Regions from separate parts of the Homo sapiens genome. Here all the other regions are linked to region 1. The links are contacts of gene promoters, found by promoter capture Hi-C in blood cells and fetal thymus (Javierre and others, 2016). All regions are on one chromosome and are shown on one strand. Each heading gives the region's core, a stretch centred on a gene start or on the middle of the fragment in contact. The rest is flanking DNA. Distances are from core to core; before and after follow the strand shown. Region 1 holds the start of ALG2 (ALG2 alpha-1,3/1,6-mannosyltransferase). Region 2 overlaps INVS (inversin). Region 3 overlaps ERP44 (endoplasmic reticulum protein 44). Region 4 overlaps ERP44 (endoplasmic reticulum protein 44). Region 5 overlaps ERP44 (endoplasmic reticulum protein 44). Region 6 overlaps ERP44 (endoplasmic reticulum protein 44). Region 7 overlaps ERP44 (endoplasmic reticulum protein 44).

Evidence for each region. The method cuts DNA at HindIII sites, captures the fragments that hold promoters and counts their contacts. A CHiCAGO score of 5 or more calls a contact.
Region 2: a contact is called between a fragment that was not itself captured here and the fragment with the promoter of ALG2 in region 1, in 1 of 17 cell types (M2 macrophages). The highest score is 6.7, in M2 macrophages.
Region 3: a fragment that was not itself captured here is called in contact with the fragment with the promoter of ALG2 in region 1 in 6 of 17 cell types (monocytes, fetal thymus, naive CD8 T cells and 3 more); the score reaches 10.5 in monocytes.
Region 4: a contact is called between a fragment that was not itself captured here and the fragment with the promoter of ALG2 in region 1, in 2 of 17 cell types (naive B cells and M2 macrophages). The highest score is 5.6, in naive B cells.
Region 5: a fragment that was not itself captured here is called in contact with the fragment with the promoter of ALG2 in region 1 in 3 of 17 cell types (M2 macrophages, total B cells and naive B cells); the score reaches 7.8 in M2 macrophages.
Region 6: a contact is called between a fragment that was not itself captured here and the fragment with the promoter of ALG2 in region 1, in 7 of 17 cell types (M0 macrophages, M2 macrophages, monocytes and 4 more). The highest score is 11.5, in M0 macrophages.
Region 7: a fragment that was not itself captured here is called in contact with the fragment with the promoter of ALG2 in region 1 in 11 of 17 cell types (M2 macrophages, M0 macrophages, M1 macrophages and 8 more); the score reaches 20.9 in M2 macrophages.

Annotation. Positions count from the first base shown.
Region 1 is chr9:99,220,110-99,223,992 of GRCh38, reverse strand. It overlaps ALG2 (ALG2 alpha-1,3/1,6-mannosyltransferase), which reads left to right and starts at 2,051. Exons shown (of 2, transcript NM_033087.4): 1 at 2,051-2,446. The coding sequence starts at 2,099. It overlaps SEC61B (SEC61 translocon subunit beta), which reads right to left and starts at 1,711. Exons shown (of 4, transcript NM_006808.3): 1 at 1,627-1,711; 2 at 1,350-1,447. The coding sequence starts at 1,629. RefSeq lists an enhancer at 1,642-1,961. The HindIII fragment of the contact is 2,183 bases long and covers 822-3,004 here.
Region 2 is chr9:100,122,504-100,126,386 of GRCh38, reverse strand. INVS (inversin) reads right to left here. Exons shown (of 17, transcript NM_014425.5): 3 at 1-4. Among named protein-coding and RNA genes, the nearest start is that of INVS, 25 kb to the right of the region's middle. The HindIII fragment of the contact is 5,558 bases long and covers 1-3,883 here.
Region 3 is chr9:100,090,005-100,093,887 of GRCh38, reverse strand. The region is part of intron 1 of ERP44 (endoplasmic reticulum protein 44); the gene reads left to right. Among named protein-coding and RNA genes, the nearest start is that of ERP44, 7.1 kb to the left of the region's middle. The HindIII fragment of the contact is 3,551 bases long and covers 106-3,656 here.
Region 4 is chr9:100,071,021-100,074,903 of GRCh38, reverse strand. The region is part of intron 1 of ERP44 (endoplasmic reticulum protein 44); the gene reads left to right. Among named protein-coding and RNA genes, the nearest start is that of ERP44, 26 kb to the left of the region's middle. The HindIII fragment of the contact is 1,026 bases long and covers 1,711-2,736 here.
Region 5 is chr9:100,051,801-100,055,683 of GRCh38, reverse strand. ERP44 (endoplasmic reticulum protein 44) reads left to right here. Exons shown (of 12, transcript NM_015051.3): 4 at 3,152-3,267. Among named protein-coding and RNA genes, the nearest start is that of ERP44, 45 kb to the left of the region's middle. The HindIII fragment of the contact is 2,542 bases long and covers 653-3,194 here.
Region 6 is chr9:100,026,083-100,029,965 of GRCh38, reverse strand. All of the region lies in intron 4 of ERP44 (endoplasmic reticulum protein 44), which reads left to right. It overlaps LOC105376176 (a long non-coding RNA gene), which reads right to left. Exons shown (of 3, transcript XR_001746547.2): 3 at 1-3,883. Among named protein-coding and RNA genes, the nearest start is that of ERP44, 71 kb to the left of the region's middle. The HindIII fragment of the contact is 643 bases long and covers 1,866-2,508 here.
Region 7 is chr9:100,005,133-100,009,015 of GRCh38, reverse strand. ERP44 (endoplasmic reticulum protein 44) reads left to right here. Exons shown (of 12, transcript NM_015051.3): 9 at 1,327-1,438; 10 at 2,369-2,510. Among named protein-coding and RNA genes, the nearest start is that of ERP44, 92 kb to the left of the region's middle. The HindIII fragment of the contact is 2,204 bases long and covers 813-3,016 here.

The DNA.
Region 1 (3,883 bases), core at 802-3,301:
GTACCTGGGATAGAAATGACTTGAGCAGGTTCTCTGTTAAAGTCTAATGAAGGAGATAAATATGGAAACATCACTGGTCTTATAATGATATGAACAAAATGCTATGGGGGCAAAAGGGAAAACTAGTAGCTACTGCTGCTTACAGACAGAGAAGGCCTCAAGAGGAAATAACCCCTGAGCTTAGTCTTGGAAAATAAGTAGAAATTTGCCTTGAGATGAGGGAGAAAGTTTGTGAATTCAGAAAACAGTAATGGGTTCACGAGTGCTGGATCATAGGACAGCAAAGAAAGATTAGGCTGAAGGCCGGGCGCAGTGGCTCACGCCTGTAATTCCAGCACTTTTGGAGGCAGAGACGGAGGATCACAAGGTCAGGAGATCGAGACCATCCTGGCTAACATGGTGAAACCCCGTCTCTACTAAAAATACAAAAAATTAGCTGGGTGTGGTGGCACGTGCCTGCAGTCTCAGCTACTCAGGAGGCTGAGGCAGGAGAATTGCTTGAACTCTGGAGGCAAAGGCTGTAGTGAGCCGAGATCGTGCCACTGCACTCCAGCCTGGGCGACAGAGTGAGATTCCATCCCAAAAAAAAAAAAAGGAAAAAGAAAGGTTAGGCTGAAATGACCACTAAGAGCTTTGGTATCCCCCCGGTTTTTTTTTTTTGTTTGTTTGTTTTTTTTAGTTCAGCAACAAGTAACAGAAACTACGCAGAAGAGTAACAGCAGAGCGAACGATGGACTGGAAAGCAAACAGCCTGAAGAAAAGGGTTAAGTAGCAAATGCAAAGCAGTAGAAAGGGAAAAGGAAAGAGCTTATGAGAAAGCTTTCAAGCAGAGTTTAAAGTCTGGCATATGACTAGAGAGAGAAAGAGCATAAGAAAAATCCAAGATGACGCTGACGTTTCTGGCTCTGAGTAAATGAGTGTACAACAGTGCCATATGGAAGTAAGGAGATATAATTGAGAGTGAGAGAGCTGAGCTGAAAAGAGACTAAGTTTTGTGTAGGACGAGTTATCTGTAGGACAGATTGCTTATGGGGCCGCCAGATGGAAATGTGAGTGCAAACCTCAGGTCCAGAGACACCAGTTTAATGACATCGGTTTTCTCAAAGTTATCTCTGACTCTATTCCAGTTTGTTAACTTTCCTTTTTTAAGAGTAGTGCCCTAAACTGAGCAACGAGAAAAAAAATGTCGCCTTCCTCCCAAAAGGCCTTTAACTACTCCCACGGCCACGTCACTAGAAGCTCATTTTGCCTTTGTCAATCTTCACATGCTAGGGTCTCCACCCCAGAATCAGCGAGGTTCTGGGTCCTATCTCCGAGTCTGGAAGCGAACGAACTGCAGGGTTCCTTACCTCTGCCGGACAGTGGATCCCGCCGCCCGGGCGGCCACTGCTTTGCTGGGAGAGCGCCCTGAGGATCCCACGTTAGTGCCACTGGGGGTCGGACCAGGCTGTAGAGGGAGACAAGCAGACAGACGGGTGAGCGCGGCAGGCCTGCCCCAGAACCCCGGCCTAGACACCCACACCCGAGGCTGGGGGAAGCAAGGGAGCTACAGAGGAAAAGCACGGCGCAAAGCAGGAGGAGTCAGGGCTTCTGGGAGAGGCGGGGATCATGGAAGGGCCGCCATACCATATTGGAGATGAGGGTGGCAAGGCGCTGACGCGGACGGATAGAAAGTTACGGAGCCCCCGAAAGACCGGCAGCTGGCGAGACTGACTCAGGCCCCGCCCCCGGACTTGCAGGCAAGGTCCTCTCTGACCCCAGGGACGCCTGGGTCGTCTCACGATATGCCTGTAGACAGTCTGCTACAGACAACTTAGTTACCTGCTGTATGGGAAGTAGAGACCTCCGGCCTCCTTCCTTTGGATCACAACGTCCTTCAGAAAGTCCAATCCCTACCGAAGGAAAAATATAACCGGGGTCAGACAAGATATTTTCTCAGGCAGTTACTAGACCCTCACAGATTTGCGCTGATGTGGCCTAACTGACGCACGTACGGCAGGGCGGGGTCGGCCCGCAGTGGCCAGCTGGGAGCTACGAGCGCGGAGCTTGCGCAGAAGACCCCCATCAGGGTGCGGGGTGCAGTTGCGGCTCCAGGGCCATGGCGGAGGAGCAGGGCCGGGAACGGGACTCGGTTCCCAAGCCGTCGGTGCTGTTCCTCCACCCAGACCTGGGCGTGGGCGGCGCTGAGCGGCTGGTGTTGGACGCGGCGCTGGCGCTGCAGGCGCGCGGGTGTAGCGTGAAGATCTGGACAGCGCACTACGACCCGGGCCACTGTTTCGCCGAGAGCCGCGAGCTACCGGTGCGCTGTGCCGGGGACTGGCTGCCGCGAGGCCTGGGCTGGGGCGGCCGCGGCGCCGCCGTCTGCGCCTACGTGCGCATGGTTTTCCTGGCGCTCTACGTGCTGTTCCTCGCCGACGAGGAGTTCGACGTGGTAGTGTGCGACCAGGTGAGGCGGCCGCGGGGCCGGCTGCGCGAGTGCGGACCTCGCCGTGGAGGGCGGCCGCGGGCATGACCCCTGAGAGAAGACCTTCCCTGTCTGCGGTTCGCAAAGATCGGAACTGACATGGAGAAGTCAGGGTTGTGAGCGAGCCTGTGGTTCTCTAACTTTAGTGTGGGCCCATTTAAAGTTGCAGATTGCTGGGGTTCCATCCTCCAGGAAGTTTTCATCCAGGTGCCCTGAGGTGGGGCCCAGACATCTGCATTTTAACTGGGTCATAGGGTGATTCCGAGGTAGATAGTCTTTGGGGCTCTGAGAAACGCTGGTATTAGAAGTCAGCTTCAGTCACCTTTTACTAATGAGTAACTCGCGTGTTGTCTTCCCGCTTACCTGTTATTTTTGTTGACTCTCCTTTCAGGCCATTTGCATCCCACTGTCCTTGTGTTCGGAGCCAGGCCACACCGTCCTCAGCAGTGTCATGTGTTAAAAACGCCAAGCTGAATATATCATGCCCCTATTAAAACTTGTACATGGCTCCCCATTGGTTTTTGGAGAAAAGTTCAAGCTTTTTACCTTGGTAAATAATGTCCACCTGGATCTGCCCTGTAGCTATTCTTGACTCTTTCCTTCGTGCATTTTTCCCCATCCTAAAAAAGATGACTTTAAAAAGTAACATTTACTCGATTAAAAATTTAGTAGTATAGAAGGATGTAACCTAAAAGCCCCGTCCTATTCTACTCCCTGAAGATAGCCACCGTTAAGTTTCTCTTGTATTTTTTCAGAAGTTGTGGTGACACCAGCCTGTGTCTTTTCATAGGTATATCTATATCTTCTTATTGGTACATAATTGGTATTATGACATACCTACTATTAGGCATCTTTTTCAGCAAAAATTTATTTATTTATTTATTTATTTTGAAACGGAGTCTTGCTCTGTCTCCCAGGCTGGAGTGCAGTGGCGCGATCTCGGCTCACTGCAACCTCCGCCTCCAGAGTAGCTGGGAGTACAGGTGCGCGCCCCACGCCCGGCTAATTTTTTCTATTTTTAGTAGAGATGGGGTTTCACCATGTTGGCCAGGCTGGTCTCGAACTCCTGACCTCGCGATCCGCCCACCTCGGCCTCCCAAAGTGCTGGGATTACAGGCATGAGCCACTGCGCCCAGCCGGGACATTCTTATGTATCAATATTAGAGATTCACTTCATTCTTCATAGTGGCCAGAAAATCCACTTTTGTTTAAGTGTGTCATAATTAAACATTCTCCTTAAAGGACACTAATGTTGTGACTAGTTTTTTGTGAATAGATCAGTGTTGTAATGAACATCCTTTTACTTCTTTTTTTTAAAATATTTTTGTACTTCTGCAAATATGTCGTTTGAGGAAATTCCTAAAGTTGGTGGGTCTAAGAGTTGTTCATTTTAAATATCAATAGCTACTGCCAAGTTTG
Region 2 (3,883 bases), core at 502-3,001, 900 kb before region 1:
TTTCCTATAAGGATAAGAAACAGATAGTGATATTTGATAATTGTTATTACTAATATAAGTAGGAACTATATTCGCTGTTTATTATCAAACATTGTGCTAAATGCTTAAGTATATCATCTTATTTTTACTTGTCCTAAGAAGTAGATATTACCATTGTCATATTATAGGAAACTGAGGCTCAAATAAGTTAAGTAACCAGTCTATGTTCACACTGAAAGTAGGTGGGGCTAGAATTTAAACTGATGACTCAATCATATTATGCTGAACTAACATTTTGAGATACAGAGCTACTTATGTTCCTCCCTCACTCACTCTTGTCTTTTGAAACAAATATTTAATTAATGCCAATTGTACACTAGGCATTGTGGTATGTTTTATGAGTGATACAAAAATGAATTACAGGCTGGGTGCGGTGGCTCACGCCTGTAATCCCAGCACTCTGGGAGGCCAAGGTGGGCAGATCACTTGAGGTCAGAAGTTCAAGACCGGCCTGACCAACATGGTGAAACCCAGTCTCTGCTAAAAATACAAAAATTAGCCAGGCGTGGTGGCGGGCGCCTGTAATCCCAGCTACTCGGGAGGTTGAGGCAGGAGAATTGCTTAAACCCAGGAGGCGGAGGTTGTAGTGAACTAAGATTGTGCCATTGCACTCCAGCCTGGACAACGAGAGTAAAACTCCATCTCAAAAAAAAAAAAAAAAAAAAATCACAGTTGATTTCCCTTTCTAGACAAGATGACAAGATAGAGCAAGTACATAGCATCCTCATCCTCCTGCTAATTACAACTAAAATCCCCAGGGCAAAAGGCAAAATAAATGACAGGCAGAGAAGGGAAGGCATCTTGGACTAGGAACTTTGGAACTTGAGAGACAACCTGGTGGTAAGTTCCCTGAAGCGTTTTCTGTTTGCTTGTTTGCTTTTGCCTCCCATTATGGGCTACAGTAGCCTATAATCCAGAAACACCAAGGTGCACAGATGCCAAAGTTCTCAAGAGAAGTCTACTCTCTCTAGTAAAAAGACTGGGAGGCAGGTAACTCTGCTGAGTGAACCATTTGACTATGCTCTACTCAAAACACATACAATAAAAGAAACTGCACCTCTTTTCCCCACTGGACACTATAGAGACCGTTGGGAGGAGCCCTGTCAAACTATCAATGCCCCGAATTAAGCAAAGGATAGCAATGAGGTAGTATTTTACCCCTTTCCAATTAGAGAGTAGGAGATAGGAATATGGAGAGGACAAAGTTGGAGGAAGTAATTCTTTAAATTGGTACAAAAAGTCAGGACACTTTTGAGCAGCCCATGTGTGAAACTGGTCAGAATCAAGATAGCAAAAGCTCTGAGAATTGAACTATAGTTAGATCATTGCCTTGGTTCTAAATGGGCCTGAGCAGCCCAGAGGTGGGGCAAACCAGAAGAGCCCTGCAAGATCTCTGAAAACTAACTTGAAATTTGAACCACAAAATTGAAAGAGAATGTTCATTCTAAACCTTGACAGATTGTCCGTTTACTAAAGTAAGATATTTAAATAGGATCCAGAGTCTCATAATACAGAAAATGTCAAAGATATAATCCAAAATTATGAAACAACTCAAAAGTTTGGAAAATATTAATTTAAACAAGAAAAGATAATCAACAGGCACTGACACTGTGATGACACAGATATATTAGAATTATATGACAAGAATTTTAAAACAACTCTCAAAAAAGTGCTCCAACAACCAACTATGAACACTCATGAAACAAATAGAACATCAGGAATGAAAAAAGAGAAGCAGAATGTAAATATGTGAGAAACATAATAGACTGTTTTTAACCTCTTTAGTTTTTTTTTTTTTTTTAATGAGGGTCTCACTGTGTTGCCCAGGCTGGTCTTGAACTCCTGGGCTAAAGCAATCCTCCCTGCCTCAGCCTCCTGAGTAGCTGGGGCTACAGTGCATGCCTGGCTTATCCTCTTTAATTTTTAGAGTTATGTTTCGATGATTGAAAGCAAAGATAACCTTGCTGTATGATGTGGTTCTCAGTTTATGTAGAGGTGATTTTTAAGATAACTATATCAAAAAGAAGGGTAAAGGGACCTAATTAGTGATAAGGCTTCTATGTTGTACTCAAAGTGGAAAATACAGACTGTGATAAAATAAGTATACATATTCTAATACCTAGAACAATCATACACACACACACACACACACACACACACACACACACACTCAGAAACAAATAAAAAACCTCCAATGAAAACAAACTATACAAAGAGATTTATTTAAAAACACAACATAGACCCAGCAGGGTGGCTCACGCCTATAATCCCAACATTTTGGGAGGCTGAGGTGGGCGGATCACTTGAGGCCTAGAGTTCAAGACCAGCCTGGCCAACATGGCAAAAACCCGTCTCTACTAAAAATACAAAAATTAGCCGGGTGTGGTGGTGGCACATGCCTGTAATACCAGCTACTTGGGAGGCTGAGGCATGAGAATCACTTAAACCCAGGAGGTGGAGGTTGCAGTGAGCTGAGATTGCACCACTGCACTCCAGCCTGGGTAACAGAACAAAAACCACAATATAAGATACCACTTCACATACACTAGGATGGTTATAATAAAAAATATACATAATAACAAGTATTAATGAGAATATGGAGAAATCAAAATCCTCATATACTACTGGTGGGAATCTAAAATGGTAGAGTCACTTTGGAAAATATTCTGGAAGTTCCTCAAAACATTAAGTAACCATTTGACCCAGCAATTCCAATCCCAAGTATGTACCCAAGAGAAACGAAGACATATGTCCACACAAAAACTGGTACACAAATATCCATTGCAGTATTATTCATGAGAGCCAAAAGGTGGAAATAATGCAAGTATCCATAAGCTATTCATCAACTGACGAATGGTTAAACAAAATGTTGTATAGCTCTACAGTGGAATATTACTCAGCAAAAGGAATGAAGGTCTAGTATATGCTCAACATGGATGAACCTTGAAAACATTATGCTAAGCAAAAGAAGCCAGTCAAAAAATACCACATATTATATAATTATATTTATGTGAAATATCTGGCACTGGCATATCTATAGAGACAGAAAGTAGATGAGTAGTTGCCTAGGACTGGGGGTTGGGCACAAATTTGAAGAGTAACAGCCAAAGGGTGAAGGGTTTCTCTGTGGGATAATGAAAGTGTTCTAATATCATTTGTGGTGACGTTTGTCCAACACTGAATACACAAAATCACTCAATTGTATACTTTAAATTTTGAATTGTATAGTATGTGAATTATATCTTAATAAAGCATTACAAAAAGCTCTACCATATATAAATTAAAATGGAATACTAAAAATATTCAAGAAACGGAAAGGAGGACAGGAATGAAAAATAGAAGGAACATGCAGTGTTCTACACAATAAATTGGAAATCTTAAATCTTAACATTCATAATTACATTAAATGTAAATGATGTAAATACATCAATAAAAAGGCTGAGATATAAAAGAAGACTTGATTAGGCTGGGCGCAGTGGCTCACGCCTGTAATCCCAGCACTTTTGGAGGCCAAGGCGGGCGAATCATGAGGTCAGGAGATCGAGACCATCCTGGCTAACATGGTGAAACCCCCTCTCTACTAAAAAACAGAAAAAATTAGCTGGGTGTGGTGGCAGGTGCCTGTAGTCCCAGCCACCTTGGAGGCTGAGGCAGGAGAATGGCGTGAACCCGGGAGACGGAGCTTGCAGTAAGCCGAAATCGTGCCACTGCACTCCAGCCTGGGCAACAGAGCGAGACTCTGTCTCAAAAAAAAAAAAAAAAAAAAAAAAAGAAACTCACTTAAAATACAATAACATAGGAGGTTAAAAGTCAAAGAATTAGCAAAACTATAATAAATACTAAT
Region 3 (3,883 bases), core at 632-3,131, 870 kb before region 1:
AAAGGTATAATGTCAAATTATTGGGTATTTGTCAGTCTGATGGGTGAGAAATGGTATCTCAATGTATTTTAATTTGCCTGTCTTTAATATGAGTGTGATCAAGCTTCTTAGGTGTAAAAGTCATTTGCATTTCTTTTTGTGTGAACTGTCTTCCTGTCTAGCCTGGTTTTCTGTAGAATTGTTGGTCTTCTATTTCTAGACTATATAGACACAGACACACACAGTTCTTTTTTTTTCCCCCCCCACAGACAGGGTCTTGCTGTGTAGCCCAGGCTGGAGTGCAGTGGCCTGATCTTGGCTCACTGTAGCCTCAACCTCCCAGGTCACGTGATGCTCCCACCTTAGCCTCCCAAGTAGCTGGGACTACAGGCACAAGCCACCACACCCAGCTAATTTTTGTATTTTTAGTAGAGATAGGCTTTTGCCATGTTGCCCAGGCTGGTCTCGAACTCCTGGGCTCAAGCGATCCACCCGCTTTGGCCTCCCAAAGTTCTGGTATTATAGGCCTGAGCCACTGTGCCCAGCCCACACAGAGTTCTTAACCCTTTATATCCTTAGTTGATTCTGTGATGATGCTCACAGGGTTGAGAAGCACTGGAATATACAGCCATATGTGAATTCAGTCATATGTCTGATAGGTTAAAATTTGTAAAAACCCTTGGAGATGTTTAATTGCTTACAGTTATTGAAAACTTTTTCTAAACTGTATACTGTGATTTTTAATAGCATTATAGAAGCTCAACCTTTAAATGCACTGTAGCTTACTTCATTATTTGTTAAGACATTTTGGTTACTGGTTATTTCAAGTTTTTCACAGTTATAAAAAATGTACAAAAGGTATGCATACAATGATGTTCTCTGCAAATGTTCAGATACATTCTCAGGTTACTTTTCTAGAATTATATTTTTTGGGTTATATGGTGTGTCTTATATTTAGAATTTCTGATATGTTGTACTAAATTGCCCTACTGAAAATTTGTACCAATGTGTATTCCTAACAGTGTGTGACTATGCCCACTTCCTCACACTCTCATCAGTAGTGAGTGTTTTTGTAATCTGTGCCAATTTACTAGACCAAAAATGGTATCACAATTTAAATTTACATTTCTTTGATTACAACCAAAGTTGAATTTTTTTCATATTTATTGATAATTTGTTTTCTTGTGTGCATGTTTGTATTATGGGTTCTTGTTATGTGTCTTCTTTTCAAAAAATGGCTTACTCTTCTTCCAGTAATTCAGAATGAATGTACTCACAAGATAGAGTTTATGAACAGTGGAAGGTATTATTCTTTTGCCTCTTCATTAGTCTCCATTCAAAAGGCAGTGTAATGCAAAAGTAGATGTCATGGCATCTATGTAAGTTCCGACTCTTCCATTTACTTAACCATCATAACCTTGGTTAAATTACTTGTTTTTCTTGTCTATAACGTAAGCACATGGATTTGATGATTCAATGATTCTTTGTGTAGTCTATCTTATTTTCAAGATAGACTACAAAAGGGTATTCCTTTAGCTCCTACTGATTATAGACTTATTATTTGATTGGGTAGTTCCTTTAAAAATCTGCTAGCTTGTCAGCATGTTGCACATGTGTATGGGGCATGCTTAGCATGCTTTTGTCACAGCTTATCTGATATTGACTCTTGCTGTACTCTATTTCTTCTAACCAAGAAGATTAAAAACAGTTTGAGTTTTTGCAACATTTATTGATTTTTAGCCTAACTTTGATTCCATAGAGAGGAACTCATCTATGGCCCAGGCTGCAGAAACTTAATCTGTATCTTTGTTATTATTTTTCTTTTCTGCCTATCATTTGAAAGTCTATTTGCAATCTACTATGGAGGAGAAAAAGATCATTGAGATGCATATCATGCCTTCAAGAAATTAGTAATTCAGATGAGGAGAGAAGATATATATATAAATAATTAGACTACCAAAAGGAAAGTAATGGATGCCAAAGGTGTTTGTAGAAGTGGGTTATAGATCCTGCTACTCAGAAGTGTGATTGTGAGCCCAGGCATCAGCATCATATGAGACCTTTTAGATCACCTCACCTCAGACCTACTGAATCAGAACCTGCACTTTAAGAACTTATACCCAGATGATTCATATGCACATAAAAGTTCGAGAAATACTGCCATGGATGTTTGGAAGAAACAAATTATTTCTCAGTGGAGGAATCAGAGTAGTCTTGGAAAAAGATGAATTTGAATATTGCCTTGAATAGTTAAATGGATCAACTTATTTTCAGTCCTGAATGGAATGAAGAAAAAGGGCAGTGCCTCTCAATAACATAGTAAATCTTTTCTATCAATTGAATACTTGTTTTTTATTGTTTTATTTTTAAGAAATCTTGTTGTCTGGTTGGCTGACGTGGCCAAATGTCAGAATTGGCCCTAAAGAAGCTGGCAAACCCTTTGGCCAACTTCATTAAAACAGTTTGTTATCAACTTAGCAAAAATAAAAATCATGATCTTTAGTGGGTTCTAACTAGCCTTCAGATTAGTCCATTCAAGAGGGGAGAGGAATAAAATGCCACTTTGGAGAAGTCCCTTCTGTAATGCTGTGGGTCTTGGTTCTGTCCTTGCAAAGACTGAAATCGAATTCTAACTGCTTTGGGAATCCTTGGTGATATTGTGGTCACCACATTCATCTCTGCAATTCCTACAAACCTGAGATTTCATCATTATGTAGAACTTTGAGCATTATATTGGACTCTAATTTTAAGTCACCTGAATTTGTAGACACGAACATTGCTAATATAGTAGAGAAAAGCAACAAAAAAGCAGAAGAAACCCATCTCAGAAAAACATTGTAGTAGTATTTGAGCTAAAGAAAACCATAGGCTGAATAGTAGAATACCAGTACTTTTTCCATTTCTTCCTTATTATAGTCTAGTAGTGGGACCTTTGGTGAATGGATTTAAGAAATTTTAGAAAAAGGTTGTTAGGTCATGTTTGACATCCTTCTGGGAAAAATAAATTTTTAAAAATAAAAAAGAGGTCATTAGGAATATAGATTATGAATGCATCTACAAAATAAAATGTTAGAGTTAAAATTTCTTGTCCTATAGACAGTACGCACTCATATTTACAAGCCTGCTCTTTAGCTGTTTTGTTGTATATTTTTTTTTTTTTGAAACAGAGTCTCACTCCGTTGCCCAGGCTGGAATGCAATGGCGTGATCTCGGCTCACTGCAGCCTCCACCTCCTGGGTTCTAGTGATTCTCCTGCCTCAGCCTCCCAGGTAGCTGGGATTACAGGTGCCTGCCACCATGCCCGGCTAATTTTTGTGTTTTTAGTAGAGACGGGGTTTCACCATGTTGGCCAGACTGGTCTCAAACTCCTGACCTCAGGTGATCCACCTACCTCAGCCTCCCAAAGTGTTAGGATTACAGCCGTGAGCCACTGTGCCAGGCCTGTTTTGTTGTATTTGAAGTTTTAAATAATGTAGGGGGAAATGCCAGCTTTTAAAAATTACCAACACATCATTGAAGTCTATCTCTTTGCTTATAGAACAGCTGCAAGTGTAAGATAATGTATTGTCATTTGGCGTTACCTTGAGAGAAGAAACCTGCACATCCTCAGTTCCTTTGACTTATTACTGGAGTTCTGGCCCAAGTACAGTAAAATGTCAGCTAGCCAGTGATAAGCTTACACTTCTGTAATGATTTTACCTCTGAAAGGGCTGAGAATAAAGAATAGCTACTTTTTTTTTCTTTTTTTGCTAGTCAAAATAATTTCTTAGAAAACAGCTACTCAAATGGACTCATTCCTCAAACTTTCTAAATAGCAGGAATTTTTACTGTAGGAGTGGATATTATTTCCTCACAGGAAGTCTTGTAGTGTGCTAACAACAAAAGTATTACAATGTTGTAAAAT
Region 4 (3,883 bases), core at 974-3,473, 850 kb before region 1:
AAAATGACCACAGGATGAGTCCGGGGACCCACTGGACCCTCTGTAAGTCAGACCTGAGCTAAAAGTCCATTAACTACCTGACCTCCATAAGCCCCTACTTTAACTGGAGGACCACGATGACATTTTGGGTCCCCTGGAATCAACATCAGCTCAGATCCAGTGTCCAGTAGTCCCCAAAATGTCTGATTATTTCCCTTTCTCCAATGCACAGTTACCCTGGTAAAAGGCCAGAGGTCTCCTTGGGGAAGGATGGGACAAAGATTCACTGCATAAATTGTTGGTAGTGTAGTGGGGTCCTTCCTCAAGGGGACTCAGCCTCCCCTTCATTCAAGGGGTTCTGGGTCTATAAACTGGCTCAAGTCTGGAAATTGATCGAGGGGCCATGATTCTCGGTTTATAATTCAAATTAGTCTTTTGTCCATTCGACCTACAAGTTTTTTCCTTATATAAATTAAGTAGGAATGCAGTAGGCTTCCTATCAATTTCACTCCTAGGAACACCGTGATTAATTAGCCAATGCTAGAGCTCTACATGAGTCAGAATATTCTGAATAGTGTTATTCAGTGTGATAACCCAGCAGTCTTGAACGTTTTTGGCACCAGGCAGTGGTTTTGTGGAAGACTGACGGGGGTGGGGAGGATAGTTTCAGGATGAAACTGCGGACTAGTACTGGTCTGTAGCCTTGGGTTTGGGGACTCCTGTGATAACCCACTTTGGACATTTGGCTCTAGCGAAATTTACCTTTTCAGAAAGATTAATCCCCAAAAGTCTTAGCTTTGTAATGATGGAGTGTGTTGAAAAGCATGGATCATGGCTTTTTAAGGGATTTCCAAAGGAGATTTTCTCTCCAAAATATTTTGAGCAGTATTGTTTGAATAAGTGTATAATAGTCTTTAGAGCAGTATTTTTGGAACTGCAAACTGGGATACATTAATTTGTTGTATTGGGCTTACATTCAACATTAATTAAAAGGATAGGAATAGAAAATACTACTGTGCATTGAATGTAGTAAGGATAGGTAGTTTTGAGAAACTTTTATTTGTGTTTCTGTTTCCTGGACTGCAGTGTAAAGTGTATTTCTTGCTGTGGATCATGGTCATAAAAAGTTTGAAAAGCCTCTGCTGTTAGATGATAACACACATTTGGATATTAACTTCTTAGAGGTTAGTATATGTAGTCTCACCTATGTAGAATGTAATTGAAAATTTCTGTTGCTGTGTATTTGTCAAAAATGTGAGAATGATTTCTTGTGAAACAGTTTTTAGTCCAGTAATGATTTTAATGTTTATCTTCAATGGAAGACAAATTCCACTGAAAGAAGGCGTCTCCACATCTCTGCTGAATCTTAGAACATCAGAATCAAAAGCAGCCTTAGATTATTAGTTCAGCTTATTTATGGACAAATAGAACTCTGAGGTCAGGAGGTAGAGAAATGCATGCCTAAGGTTACATTGTGAGTGGTAGAGCTGGTACCAAAACCTAGGTCTCTTGACTCCCAACTCATAGACTGCAGAAGGTCAATTGTAGTTTAATCATAATCTCAACTAATTCTATGTAACAGTTATAAAAGCAAGCTTTTATGAGAGTTCATATTCAGAAGAAAACAATGACCAATTGTTTAGTTTTTTTAAAAAAAACTTGATCATGCATTACTTTTAAAATTCTCTTTGGCTATAGAATGTGAAATTCTTAATTTGAATTATGTAAGCTTATACTCTCTTTGAAACCGTACTTGGGAAGTTTTGAGTTTGTTACAGGGTACTTATTTTTAAATCATCTGCCTCTTGACTGAAATGAACTGTTACCAGATCCAAATCACCACTTAAAATTGCTTGAAATGTTTGTCAACTGCTTCATTAAAGCCCAAAGGCAGCATATATTCAGTGGGCAATTTTGAAGAGTCAGCATGAAGTTCAAACATTAGGAAATTAAGGACATCCTATACCTCATTATTTTAATTAATACATGTTATAAAAATCTAAAATTCAGAAGGATTCAACGTTTGAAGGTTGTGGATGACTCAGGGACTTGGAAGATTGCCCTTCTTACCTCTAAGGTTGATTGACTGCCTCAAAACTCCAGAAGATAGAGAGTTAGAGAACTTTTTGTAATCCCAGCACTTCGAGAGGCAGAGTGGGCAGATCACCTGAGGTCAGGAGTTTGAGACCAGCCTGGCCAACATGGTGAAACCTCGTCTCTACTAAAAACAAAAAATTAGCCAGACGTGGTGGCGCACACTTGTAATCCCAGCTACTCAGGAGGCTGAGGCAGGAGAATCGCTTGAACCAGGGAGGCGAAGGTTGCAGTGAGCCAAGATCGCTCCATTGCACTCCAGCTTGGACAACAAGAGCAAAACTCTATCTCAAAAGAAGAAAAGAGAGAGTTAGAGAACTTTTTTGTTTTTTAGTTCTGTTTTTTAGAAAAATGAGTTCTCTTCCTTTGTCCCTGCTTGTTGGTCTTTTCTCTCTACCTCCCAAATGGTTTTGAGGATTAAAGTAAACAGTATATTCCTAATTGTGCCAATGCTTACTTCTTCTTTCTGTACCTCCATCTCACAGCAAGTACAAAAGTGAGGACAGACATGAGCAAAGGAGATAGATTCCTAAATTCAGATTTCCTTTTAACACACCAAGGTCATTCTCTGATTAGCTTTTTGGTAAAAGTGCTTAGAAAGCTGAACTACTATGTGGTAGTAATGAAGATCAACCTTAGTGACCCTTAATATATAAGAAAGCTTTGAGACTGTCACTGGGAGTATTTTAGACTAAATGAAAGATAAATCTGTTTGCTTTACAAAGCTAATTCAAACAGTATGTGTGGCAGATGGGACAGCATTAAAGATTCTTCTAATGATCATTAATTAGGATAGGCACCTCAAGAAGTATATGGCCTCTCAAGGACTACTTCTGATTGATATTTAGAATTAATTTGGTTAGAAGTAACAATGTAATTTTTAAAACACAGAGGTTTATTTTTTTTCTGGAGACAGAGTTTCACTCTTGTTGCCCAGGCTAGAGTGCAATGGCGTGATCTCAGCTCACAGCAACTTCCACCTCCCGGGTTAAAGTGATTCTCCTGCTTCAGCATCCCAAGTAGCTGGGATTACAGGCATCCGCAACCACGCCCAGCTAATTTTTTGTATTTTTAGTAGAGACAGGGTTTCACCATGTTGGCCAGGTTGCTCTCAAACTCCTGACCTCATGTGATCCCCCTGCCTCAGCCTCCCAAAGTGCTGGGATTACAGGCGTGAGCTACTGTGCCTGGCCAAAAAATACAGATCTTTAAAGTCAGTAGTGGATTAATACTTTGGATATATATAGTAATGGAATCATTAGGGGATTTGGTAATAAAAACATTTTTACCCAAGAATACGTACAGTACTCTACTTAAGAATAAGAAACTAGGAAGTCTGAGAGTGATTCTGGAACTAAGTGACTGTGGAAAATAAGTAAGCCAAGGTTTCACTGAAGACAGTTTTTCCTTAAAGGCCATTTACTCACCCAAAAACAGTCAGGGCCACATGTTTAGTAATGAAATAAAGGCATTCTTTGACACATAGGAGATATTTTCCTCATACTTTGGAGTGTAGAAATGTGTGTGCCAATAGCAACAGCTAGTAAAAGGGCTAAAGAATGTTATATGTTTGCTGGATGTGGTGGCACATGCCTGTAGTCCCAGCTACTTGGGAGGCTGAGGTGGGAGGATTGCTAGAGCCCAGGAGGTGGAGGTCGCAGTGAGCCGAGATCATGCCACTGCACTCCAGCCTAGGTGACAGAACAAGACCTTGTCTCAAAAAAAAAAAAAAAAAAACCTTATATAATTTAGGAGATACTACAATCTGTTGAGTATAAACTTTGAAAAATTGTGTAAAAGTCAAGTGAAA
Region 5 (3,883 bases), core at 674-3,173, 830 kb before region 1:
AGGATAATCACATGGCTGGGCACAGTGGCTCACGCCTGTAATCCCAGCACTTTGGAAGGCCGAGGCGGGCAGGTCACCTGAGGTCAGGAGTTCCAGACTAGCCTGACGAACATGGTGAAACCCCGTCTTTACTAAAAATACAAAAAATTAGCCGGACGTGGCAGGCACCTGTAATCCCAGCTACTTGGGAGGCTGAGGCAGGAGAATTGCTTGAAGCCAGCAGGCGGAGGTTGCGGTGAGCTGAGATCACACGGTTGCACTCCAGCCTGAGTGACAGAGCGAGACTCCGTCTCAAACAAAAACAAAAACAAACAAAAAAAACACACATCAGGGTAAATGGAGTATTCATTAATTCAAGGATTCATCATTTTTGTTACAAACATTCCAGTTTTACTCTTTTAGTTATTTAAAAATGTACAATACATTTCTGTTTAGTCATCCTGCTAGATCTTATTCATTCTAACTATATTTTTGTACTCATTAACCATCCCCATCCAGACTCTTTACATAGGTTTTTTTTAATGCTCAGAACTACTCTGTAGGTAGGTATTATAATTTCCTTTTAGGTTGAGGAATTGAGGCTCAGAAGGGTCATATGGCTAGTAAGTGGTGGAACTGGGATTTAAATTCAGGTATGCCTAACTGCAAAGCTTATTTTTTTCTCTAACTAGATCATATTAGTAAGTGCCCTCAAAATGTCTCTGCAAAGACTTATCTATTTGGTAGATTTGTTAAGGATTGATTTAAGCACTAGATGGAAGATTAGGTTTAGATGACCCTTAGGCCCTTTTAATAGATCCATTGCTTTTGTGATGTTCCTTTTATAAATGTAACATTTCCATGTGTATGGATACACATGTATGAAGGTACAGTAATTATGGAATTGAACTTTTATTTCATTTTCCCTTTTCGTCTTTTGGTACAGGTTGAGTATCCCTTATCTGAAATACTTGAGACCAGAAGTGTTTCAGTTTTTGGATTTTTTCAGATTTGGTAATGTTTGCCTTATACTTACTGGTTCAACATCCCTAACCCCAAAAATACGAAATCCAAAATGCTTCAATGTGCATTTCCTTTGAGCATCTTGTCAGTGCTCAAACAGTTTTAGATTTTGAAGCATTTTGAATTTTTAGATTAGGGGCATTCAACCTGTATTAAGACAGGTCCTATTTTAAACATGAACCATGCTTAAATACTTAATGAGTGGCAAACTGGACAATCTAGAGAAAAGAAGCCCTTGATGTGTTTTTTTACGTCGCCCTTAAGCCATAAAGAGGCTTGCCCGCTCTTTCTTCACTAGGTCAGATCTAAATTTTTCAAGAAACCATTAATCAGCCCCTACTCCTTGCCTCCCTTGCCCTCCAGCTACCTTATTTTCAGCGAACTGTAAGAACCCACAAACCTGCGGTCCTAGCCGCTCCAGTTCCTCCATTCTATCAATTTATTGATTTAATACATATATTGAATGTTTATTAGAATACATAGTCAAATAAGACACGGTCCATGATGTCCACAGACCCCATCCTCTTATCCCTGATGGGAGAGATTTAAGAATGCTAAAAGAGGAAAGAGCCACTTGAAAGCAAGAGATTGAAGATACAGATGTGTCTCCTTGATATATTCTAGGACATCTCCTTAGGAAGTCAGGTGAGTGGGCTAGAAGAGATATATATATACAAGAAGAAATAGGGAGGAAGTATAATGTTTGCATCCTTTCACAGGCTTTCCAATATTTTTATTGTATTAAAGCTAATATGTATGAACTAATTACATGTGGATTAAACTGTTCACTGACATCATTTAAGTAAATTTGGTGGAAAAGGGCTCTGGAAGCAACAGTAGCAATTGTAGTTTGTTTACATATTCTTAATACTTCTTCCGTAAGAGAATGGCCATTCTAACCCAGCTGGTTGCTAATTCTGATTCTTCCCCTTCTTATTGGGTCCCTTTAATTACCTAGAACATAGTCATCCATGACATGATGTTTAGGTCAATGACAGAAGTCCCATATATAATACCGTATTTTTACTGTAACTTTTCTGTGTTTAGATACCTGCTATTGTGTTACAGTTGCCTACAGTATTTAGTATATTAACATGTGGTACAGGTTTGTAGCCTAGGAGCAGTAGGAGGCTGTATACCCTATAGTGTAGGTGCATGCTAGGCTATACCATCTAGGTTTGTGTAAGTATACTTTATGATGTTCACGTAATGAAGAAATCGCCTAATGGTGTATTTCTGAGTGTATCCCTGTCGTTAAACACCACATGACTGTATTTGTGAAATGTTTGGCTTGATTAAGGGACAGTTAGAAGTAACAAGTTTGTAGAATATTGTGGGGGTTTGTGCCTTGTGTTTAAAGTAAAAGAAAAAAGAAAATATAGACAGGAAGTCTTGGTTAGGAATTTAAGATATTTGCTTCTGGACTTACTGTATTTAGTATGTTTACAGATATAAAAGCCCATTTTATCAAGGGGTAAATTTTGAGGGGAAATAGTTAATTATATACCATATATTCTTTTAATATAACTTATTTATTTAGTGTGTTAACTTGCCTGTGAGATTTGATAGAACTAGCCAGGTGGAGAGGTCTAATATTTGCAATACAGTTAAAATATTTTACACAATAGTCTAAAATTTTATTATTTTGAGGTGGGAGGATTGCTTGAGCCCTGGAGGTGGAGGGTGCAGTGAGCTCAGATTGTGCCCCTGCCCTCCAACTTGGGCAACAGAATGAGACCCTGTCTCAAAAAAAATTAAAAATAAATAAAATAGAGAAAGCTAATTTTTCATAAATGTTCAAGCCTCAGTAGTTACAAATCCTAACAGTACTTTGTAGAGGGCTTATTTCAGACTTGTTTTATGACCTCTGCAAGAGATCCTTAGCTGTGTGCTCCATAATACTGGCAATTGTCTTAAGATGAATAAAACCAAAATCTATTATACATTCTTAGAATTGGTATACAGTCTTTGAACTTAAAATTGTCTTCATCTCCATTGAACGATGTCAGGGTCCATGATTAAATTAAGTGTGTGATTATCTCGCAGAGTCGTTTATTATGCCTATATCAAATGTCAGTGGGCAATAACGGAAATAAGATTTTATTACTTCTGCTTTTCATTTCTAATTGGCATCCTTCTCTGTGTATAGGTGTCGTTTCAGTCAGATGTTGCATCCAATTTTTGAGGAAGCTTCCGATGTCATTAAGGAAGAATTTCCAAATGAAAATCAAGTAGTGTTTGCCAGAGTTGATTGTGATCAGCACTGTAAGTACCTCAATAGGAAGTCTAGAAGAGACTGTCCCATCCCAAACACAGGCACACATACACATTTTTTCTTTTCTTTTCTTTTCTTTTTTTTTCCTTTTCTTTTTTTTTTTAAATGCTCTGCTTTTAAGTGGAGAACAAACCGAAAAGGTTCTAGTGACCTTGGTTAAATTGTTACTATTTAATTTTTATGTACTTAGAACACTACTTTCCATTTTGCTTGTGTGAAGGTTTTTTTGTTGTTATTTAAAAAATTACAGTAGGTCAAGCGTAGGGAACAAAACTAGCAGTGTTTTCTACCAAAGCAAATACCAAAATCAGTAAATAAGATTGAAATGTAGTATTAGAAGAAAAAATGGATTTCTGTTAGTTTTAGAATCATGTGAAAATACCATTTATAGTCATTTCAAATAAGATAGTCTCAGATTTTTGTGTGTTTCTGTTTTTGAAAAGATTCTGTTTTGAAAAGATTCTGGTTTAGACTATTTTTGAGTCTAATTAGCTGTAGCAACTGATTATAATTATTAAGAGTGTTAAGAAACTTAGCTTAGGCTCTTAAAATCCAACCTCTTGCATTTTGCTTGTCCTGGTGGAGCATTCTCTATAAAATCCTCAT
Region 6 (3,883 bases), core at 938-3,437, 810 kb before region 1:
CAGGTGCGCACCACCACGCCCGGCTAATTTTTGTATTTTTAGTAGAGACGGGGTTTCGCCATGTTGGCCAGGATGGTCTCAATCTCTTGACCTCATGATCTGCCCGCCTCGGTCTCCCAAAGTGCTGGGATTACAGGCATGAGCCACCGCACCCGGCCCCACATTTTCTTTATCCATTCATCTGTTGATGGCCACTTAGGTTGATTTCATATTTTGACTATTGTAAATAGTGCTGCAGTAAACACGGTGGTGCAGATATGTCCTTGCTATACTGATTTCCTTTTCTTTGGATAAATACACAGTAATGGAATTGCTAGATCATGTGGTAGTTCTATTTTTAGGTTTTGAGGAACCTCCATTTTGTCTTCCATAGTGGCTGTGCTACGTTACTGTCTCATCAACAACATGTGAATGTTTCCCTTTCTCCAAATCCTCTGCAGTATTAATTATTTTCACATTTTTGTTAATAGCCATTCTAACTGGGGTGAAATGATATCTCATTGTGGTTTCGATTTGTATGTAACCACATGATTAGTGAAACTGACAATTTTTTTTCACATGCTTTTTGGCCATTTGTATGTCTTTTGAGAAATGTTTGTTGAGATGCCATGTCCTTTTTAAAATAGGATTTTGTTGTCGTTGTTGTTGCTTGTATATTCTGGATGTTAATCCCTTATCAGATGATTAGTTTACAGATATTTCCACTAATTCTCAGGTTGCCTCTTCACTCTGTTGAGTGTTTCCCTTGCCCTACAGAAGCTTTTTAGTTTGATAAAATCCCATTTGTCTATTTTTGCTTTTTTTTTTGCCTGTGCATTTAAAGCAGTATCCATAAAAATCTTTGCACAGACCAATGTGCTAAAGCATTTCCCCTATGTTTTCTTCTACTGGTTTTATAGTTTCGGGTCTTAGATTTATGTCTTTAATCCATCTTGAGTTGATTTTTGTTTATGGTGAGAGATAGGGACACTTAGAATTTTTTTATACCTATTGTGAAAACTATTTTAGACTCAGAAATAGATTTTAAAAATTCTGTCATTATTGTGTGTGCCTTAAAAGGAAAATAAATTTGTTCAAGTTATTCTGAAACTAGAGTCTGACTCTTGTGCATCATTTCTCAACTGAGTCGAGTTTTTTGTTTTTGTTTTTGTTTTTTTACACAGTATTGGCCTCCATGCCATTAAGAGTATTGGTAATGCTCTACTCTCTCTAGGAATTTCTTCCAAGCTGCTAAAACCCATTCTGCAAGTATTGATGCTATCACTTTACTATTTGACTAACCTCAGAGTTTATTTTTTCTGAATTGAAATATATCTCTGCTAGTTAAGCAACTTTTCTTCAAAGTTACCAAAATATAAGCCAAAATGTTAATAGTGGTTTTCTCCAGTGGTGGTTGGAAGTGGTTCTTGTTTTCTTCTTTGTAACTGTCTGCTTTCCAAAATTTCGAAACACACATAGACACACATGTACACATGCATGTACATATGCACACAATTAAAACATGGCCTTGCTTCAACTTGCTTCACATCTTATCTTCTGCAGTCTTATCATTTGGGGAATTCAGGAGCGTAATTCATTATTCTCCTTGGTGGTCATGCTTGCTGCCTTGAATCTAGAAAGTCCCATCAGTCAGCCCCTGGTGGGACCAGGTTCTCTGCTGACCTCCAGTGGCCTTAGGCTGTATGGCACTAAGCAAGAGGCATTCATATGCTTGCTGGTCAGTGCAGAACAGACCCACACTTGTGTTTTTAGGAAAGTACTTTGTAATTGTCCTTGATTAGGTAGCACATGCACCCATATACCTGAGTTACTCTTACCTGTCTTCCAGTGCAACTCGAACCTTACTTATTGGAAATTGAGAAGCTTTTTATAGGAACTATATATAAATATCATAGTAAGAACAAGAAAATATGAAGTGAAGACTTTATGTGCATAGAACAGAATTTGGATGAGCAGTTAAGCCTGAGTTCTGAGTGAACTTCTAGGCTTTGCTTATTAGTTTTCTGTTGAGGTATTTTGTTTTGTTTTTTGGGGATGTTTGTCTTTTTGGGGTTTTTTTGTTTGTTTTGAGGGGTGCAGTTTGGGAATGGGAAGAAGTACATAGGCAGCAGTGGTCCTTCTCCTGGAACCAGAAGAACAATAAGACTTTCCTGTTGAAATGATCTGCCTCTTTGTATTTTCTGCCATGGATAACCATTGCAGGGAGAGACGTTGCTGAAACGAGTATGAGGCAATTTCCCCATTTGGAACCCTGCTGGGTATTAGTGAGGCAGGCAGGCAGGACCCATCAAGGAAAAGTAAGTGACCATTGGAGCAAAAATATATGCTAATTTTCCAATCAGTGAGCTGTTAACCTTCTGGGATTTATAATTCCTCTGACATCCATTTTAACATTTGATCTATCCAGTTAATTTTAAAAACCCATTTATTATACCCCTTAAGTCATTTTTTGTTATATTGTCAAAGTGTCACATTCTAATTATCTTAAAATCACTTTTGGCCAAAGCTTGTAAAATAAAAAAAAAAGCATTATGTCTGAGATTACTGATCAATGTAATTTTAAGGTTTTTGCTTCTTAATAATTAAACGCCACTGCATTATGCAGCATACCTGCTGCCAGGATGTTGTTTGAGAATGAAGCAAATGAATATCTAATCCCATAATAGTTTTCAAATATTTTAAATCTTTTTCTCTCTGTAACCAGAATTTTAAAGCAACCTAAAGATTGTAATGTTTGTTAATAGACTCTTGTGATTTTTGCCACAACTATTACAGTACTAGTCTCCCTGGTTCTCTACTACTTCCAGGTGAATTTTTTGAAAGCCCAGCTCTACAGCTCAGTGGCTGCTTATCACAACACTGGATAAAATTCAAACTCCATCAGCTTAGTGCTTAAGACCCTCTAGAGTCCGTCTCTAACCTTATTTATTCTACTCCTGGTTTATGCATACTTGCTGTTAGCACACTACTTTCTCATTGCGCCCCCTAATTCATCAAGTTTAGAAAGTTGAAAGCATTATATTGTCTCCTATAGTGCATCTTGCTGTCCATTTTCATACTGATACTTAGGACACAGGTGGAAAATATATGTTTTGTATTAGACTAGTTTCTTTGCTTCTGAGTCCATCTCATATCCTCTCTGCCAGATCCTTTGGGTATTAAAAAGTCTTAGGGTATTAAAAAAGATTACTTGACTTCTTGTTGACAAAGTAGGCACCAGCTAGGCTAGTTTACCTTTATTAACATTGAATATTGGACCTAAATGAAACCTACTAGGAATATTTTACTTTCACAGGGTTTCATATTATTGAATTTTAGTTTAAAACATTTTTATTATTACTGATTTTTTGCCAGTATGAAAGACAAAATGTTATCTGGGAGTTTTAATTTGTAACTTTCTGATTACAACTGAACATATGTAATAGTTTATTGGCAATCTGTGTTTCTTTCATAAACTGATAGCTTTAACTCACTTATCTTTTTGGTAGTCTTTTTTTAGTTCATTCTTTTTATATTCTGAATATTAATCAGTTGTCTCTAGTACATGTCACAAGTACCTTTCTTCCTGTCTGTCTTAAAAATTCGTGTTTTTCTTTTAATGTCTAGATGCTTCCTAATCTTTGTGGCTTCAAAATCTGGCAAATGTCTTGGCTGCATGTGGTCTTGATACAGGGTTGCAGGTCCTTTCCAAAGTAGACGTTGTCTCCTAAGTACCAGGAGGCCATAGGAGATTTTTCGTCTTTGTGACCCAACTCCCCAGGTTTGTATATCACCCCAGCACTCAGCAGATGTCCTCTGGAGACATTTCTCTTGCCTATGCAGGTATAATTCTCAGCCCTAAATCTGCAACTGCAGGCTTAATTTCCAAAACAAATTACACAGG
Region 7 (3,883 bases), core at 665-3,164, 790 kb before region 1:
ATTCCAGCACTTTGGGAGGCTGAGGCAGGCAGATTGCTTGAGCCCAGGAGTTTGGGACCAACCTGAGCAACATGGCGAAATCCCATCTCTACAAAAAATAACAAAAATGAGCTGGGCATGGTCATGCATGTTTGTAGTCCTCACTATTTGGGAGGCTGAGGTGAGAGGATCACCTGAGCCTGGGGAGGTCGAGGCTGTACTCCAGCCTGGGCGACACAGTGAGACCCTGTCTCCAAAAAAACAATGGTGAAATTTATGGTATGCTAATTGTATCTCAGTTTTTTAAAAAAATAAATGTAACAAGAGGCTTAATAATTGATCTTATATACAAGTGAAATAGGCTTAAATATGGAGATGAGAGCCAGAAGAAAACTTTTAATCCTGTAAAATAGGTCCCAGTTTGTTTTTTAAAAAATAAAGGACATTTGTACTTTCTGGTGAGGTAGTTCCTAGATTTATGGAGAGATCCTCAAAAGGATAGTTGATGAAAATAATTTTGTTATGAGACCCTTTCTGGACTTTTTCTGATGAGTCAGAACTTAGCATTTGTTGGGGAGAATAAATGATTAAATCTGTCTACATATCACATTTTATTTAATCATGTCTACCCATTGTAGTATTCTCCAATTACAACAATAAAAATTTTAATAGCACTTTATAATTTTCAAGGTGCTTTTCTGTGTGTATAAATAAAGAGGTATATAAAAATATATAGGGGTAGGTATTTATTAATAATGTTAATTGTATATTGGTTGAGAATTAGTTAAATAATGGAGGTTTTGTTTTTTACCCTGGATAAAACACTTCAAGCTTTGGGTAAGTTTTATATGTAAGTGTAATGGTTTTTGCAACCTTAGAATATAAAAAAATACAAAAAATTTTGCAAATCAGATTTATTTATTGCTGATATACTGTTTTTCACTGTTACTTGTGAAGACTGAAAATACTAGTCATGTTTACCCCACTCTAAAATTAACACCTTGGTAAAGAACCAGCATAGTTCACCTCTATATGTCATGAATTCAACAGCCTAACCCTGAAGTCTCATATCCCATACTGGCTAACAGACAGTGGGGGCAGATCAGTTTCTGCAGCAAAGCAGGGCATGTGGGTCCTCTGACTGTCTGGGTACTTGAGGTGGGGAGGGGAGTGAATTCAGTCTTCTGTTCAGGCTAATGTTTATTCACACCACTGGGCCTTTTTTTTCCCCCGGGATATTGCAACTATTGCATTACATGGGTTGGGTTCAAAATTGTTCCTACCTAGAAAATAGCTACAACTGAATGGAGAAGCCTGATAATTCTCATTGAATGCTTCTCTCTACAGGAATTGACAGAAGAAGGACTGCCTTTTCTCATACTCTTTCACATGAAAGAAGATACAGAAAGTTTAGAAATATTCCAGAATGAAGTAGCTCGGCAATTAATAAGTGAAAAAGGTAGACAGATTAAGGTGTTTATTTTCATCATTTCTTTCTCTCTTTTCTTTTTTTCCCTTTCATCATCTCCTCTCCCATTTCTGTCAAATCACATAAACATATTTGGGTTAAAAACTTATTTTAACACATTCAAATGTGATGGTAAGGAGGCATTAGTAGAGAGATAATATGAGGTAGTGTTTTTTTGTTTGTTTGTTTTCTAACCATTACTATTTTGGAGAGAAAAATCAAAGTGCATGAAAAGCAGGGTCATGAATGAGCATTAGTTCTGGGCACTTGCCTTCATTGCTTGTGTGACCCCTTTTCCAATGGACATTCCCAGAGATGTTGCTGAGAGAGCTTACACAGTCTGATTAACATTTATTTCTAAATGAAAGAAAGTTGAGTAGTTGTCTGTGGATTTCTCCAAAGCATTTAATGGAATTTGAGGTGTCACCAGCTTTTCCTCTGTAGTTAGGGAAGAAAGTCAAACAAAATAAACTAAAGGTACTCTATAGAGCTGCCCATTTTAGTCACATACTATCTTGCAGGTTGAATTCGACTAAAAATCAACCAGTATGACTGGAATAGGCTGGAATGAAAATGGTCCCATGAGAATGGCTCATATATCAACTTGAACTTCCTGCCTAGAACCTGATAATCTGCAAAGTAAATGATTGCCCATTTAAGGAAAGTAAAAAATTCATTATAGCCTTCAAATTTGCACTAAGTCAATATGATTTCTAAAGAAGTTATACTCTGTGCCCTAAGAACTAAAAGCCTACCTATTTTAAGTGTTAGATATTTAGGTTTTAGTTTTTCTGATCTATATTACTCTTAAGAATGTTGGGTGCTTTTTTTTTAGTATGTCACTTTTTGTGAGCTTGCAATCTTACAAAAATATTTTCAAGAAAATTTGAATTTACCTCTCAAAATTCTTTTTTCTTAAAGGTACAATAAACTTTTTACATGCCGATTGTGACAAATTTAGACATCCTCTTCTGCACATACAGAAAACTCCAGCAGATTGTCCTGTAATCGCTATTGACAGCTTTAGGCATATGTATGTGTTTGGAGACTTCAAAGATGTATTGTGAGTATTCATTTTGTTTTTTAAAAATTACTGATATGTTTTTCAAAAATGAACTGAAAATAGTTGTTTGAATATTTTAAATAATCCTATGTTGGAACAGTAAGACTTTGTTAACTGGATGGGAGAGGTTTGGGTGACTGCTGCTTTTTTTCACTATAGAGTGTGGTATAATTATGAACATTATGATATAGCCTTGTAGAAATACCAACATTAAGTGATTAGAATTGATAATGAATGCTTGGATGATTAGTGATTAATGCTTGGGAATCAATCTCTCAAAGAAAATTTTTGTCTTGTGAGAAATTAGCTCTTCATTGAGTTTGGTCTTTACCAAGCACATTGAGAAAAATAGCTTATAACCTTAGGCCAGGGTAAAGGAAATTGGTAATATTGCTGTTCATTCGTGACTTCACATAGCAAGAACATTAGTAGTATTTATGAATCTTGCTATTACTAGGCGTTTCTAATGGCATATAGCTATGAACTGTTCCAAGAATAGGTAAGCTTTCTGACTCAATTCTCAGATATTTATAGTATTAATATATGTACAAGCCTTGTAGCTACTACAGATACTGAATTTTTATCAGCTTTGTGAGGTGTTAAATACAGTGGTTAAAAATGTAGATGTTTCTTATACGAAAAGTTTAAGCAATACAGGTATTCAAGTTAGACATTTTATTTTGAAAATTCATTTAAATGCCATTTTTATCTCAAAAGATTAAATTACACAGAGGATGATTTGTAGTCCTATGGCAGAATGAATTACCCCACTGAGTTCTAAATATTTCAGTGGAGATGTGGTTGTTTGGTAGAAGATTCCCAATCCTAAAATTACCTAGGAAGCCTAGATTTGAGTCCAGCCTTGGGAAAGTCACTTACCTCCTCTGTTCTTGTTTCTTCGTATATAAAAAATGGTTAATGATACCACCTACCTAATGGGATTGTTATAAAAACTAATGAGAAATAATGATTATGTTATAAACCATAAAGTAGTGAGAAATCTTAGTTGTTCTTACTTTATCTATGCTCAGAAAGATACCATTCAAGCTATCAATTCATTAAATATTTAGCTATCTCTTCTGTATGACAGACATTGTGCTAAGAACCAAGGGTTTTTACTGAGACTGGGTCCCTGCCCTCAAAGAATTCATAACCAAGTAGAGGAAAGGGACAACCAGGTTAACAGGCAATTGTGTTTTACTAAGGGATAAGTGCTCTGACAGAGATCAACAGAGTAGTACCTGATCCAGGATTTCTGGCGATATTGATGCCGAAGGTAGGTATAAAGTTTTGTAGAAGTTTATCCCGAGGTGAGAAGGAGATGGGGCTTAGAGAAAGGTGACCTTGGCAAGAACAAGTTCAAGGGCTGTTGG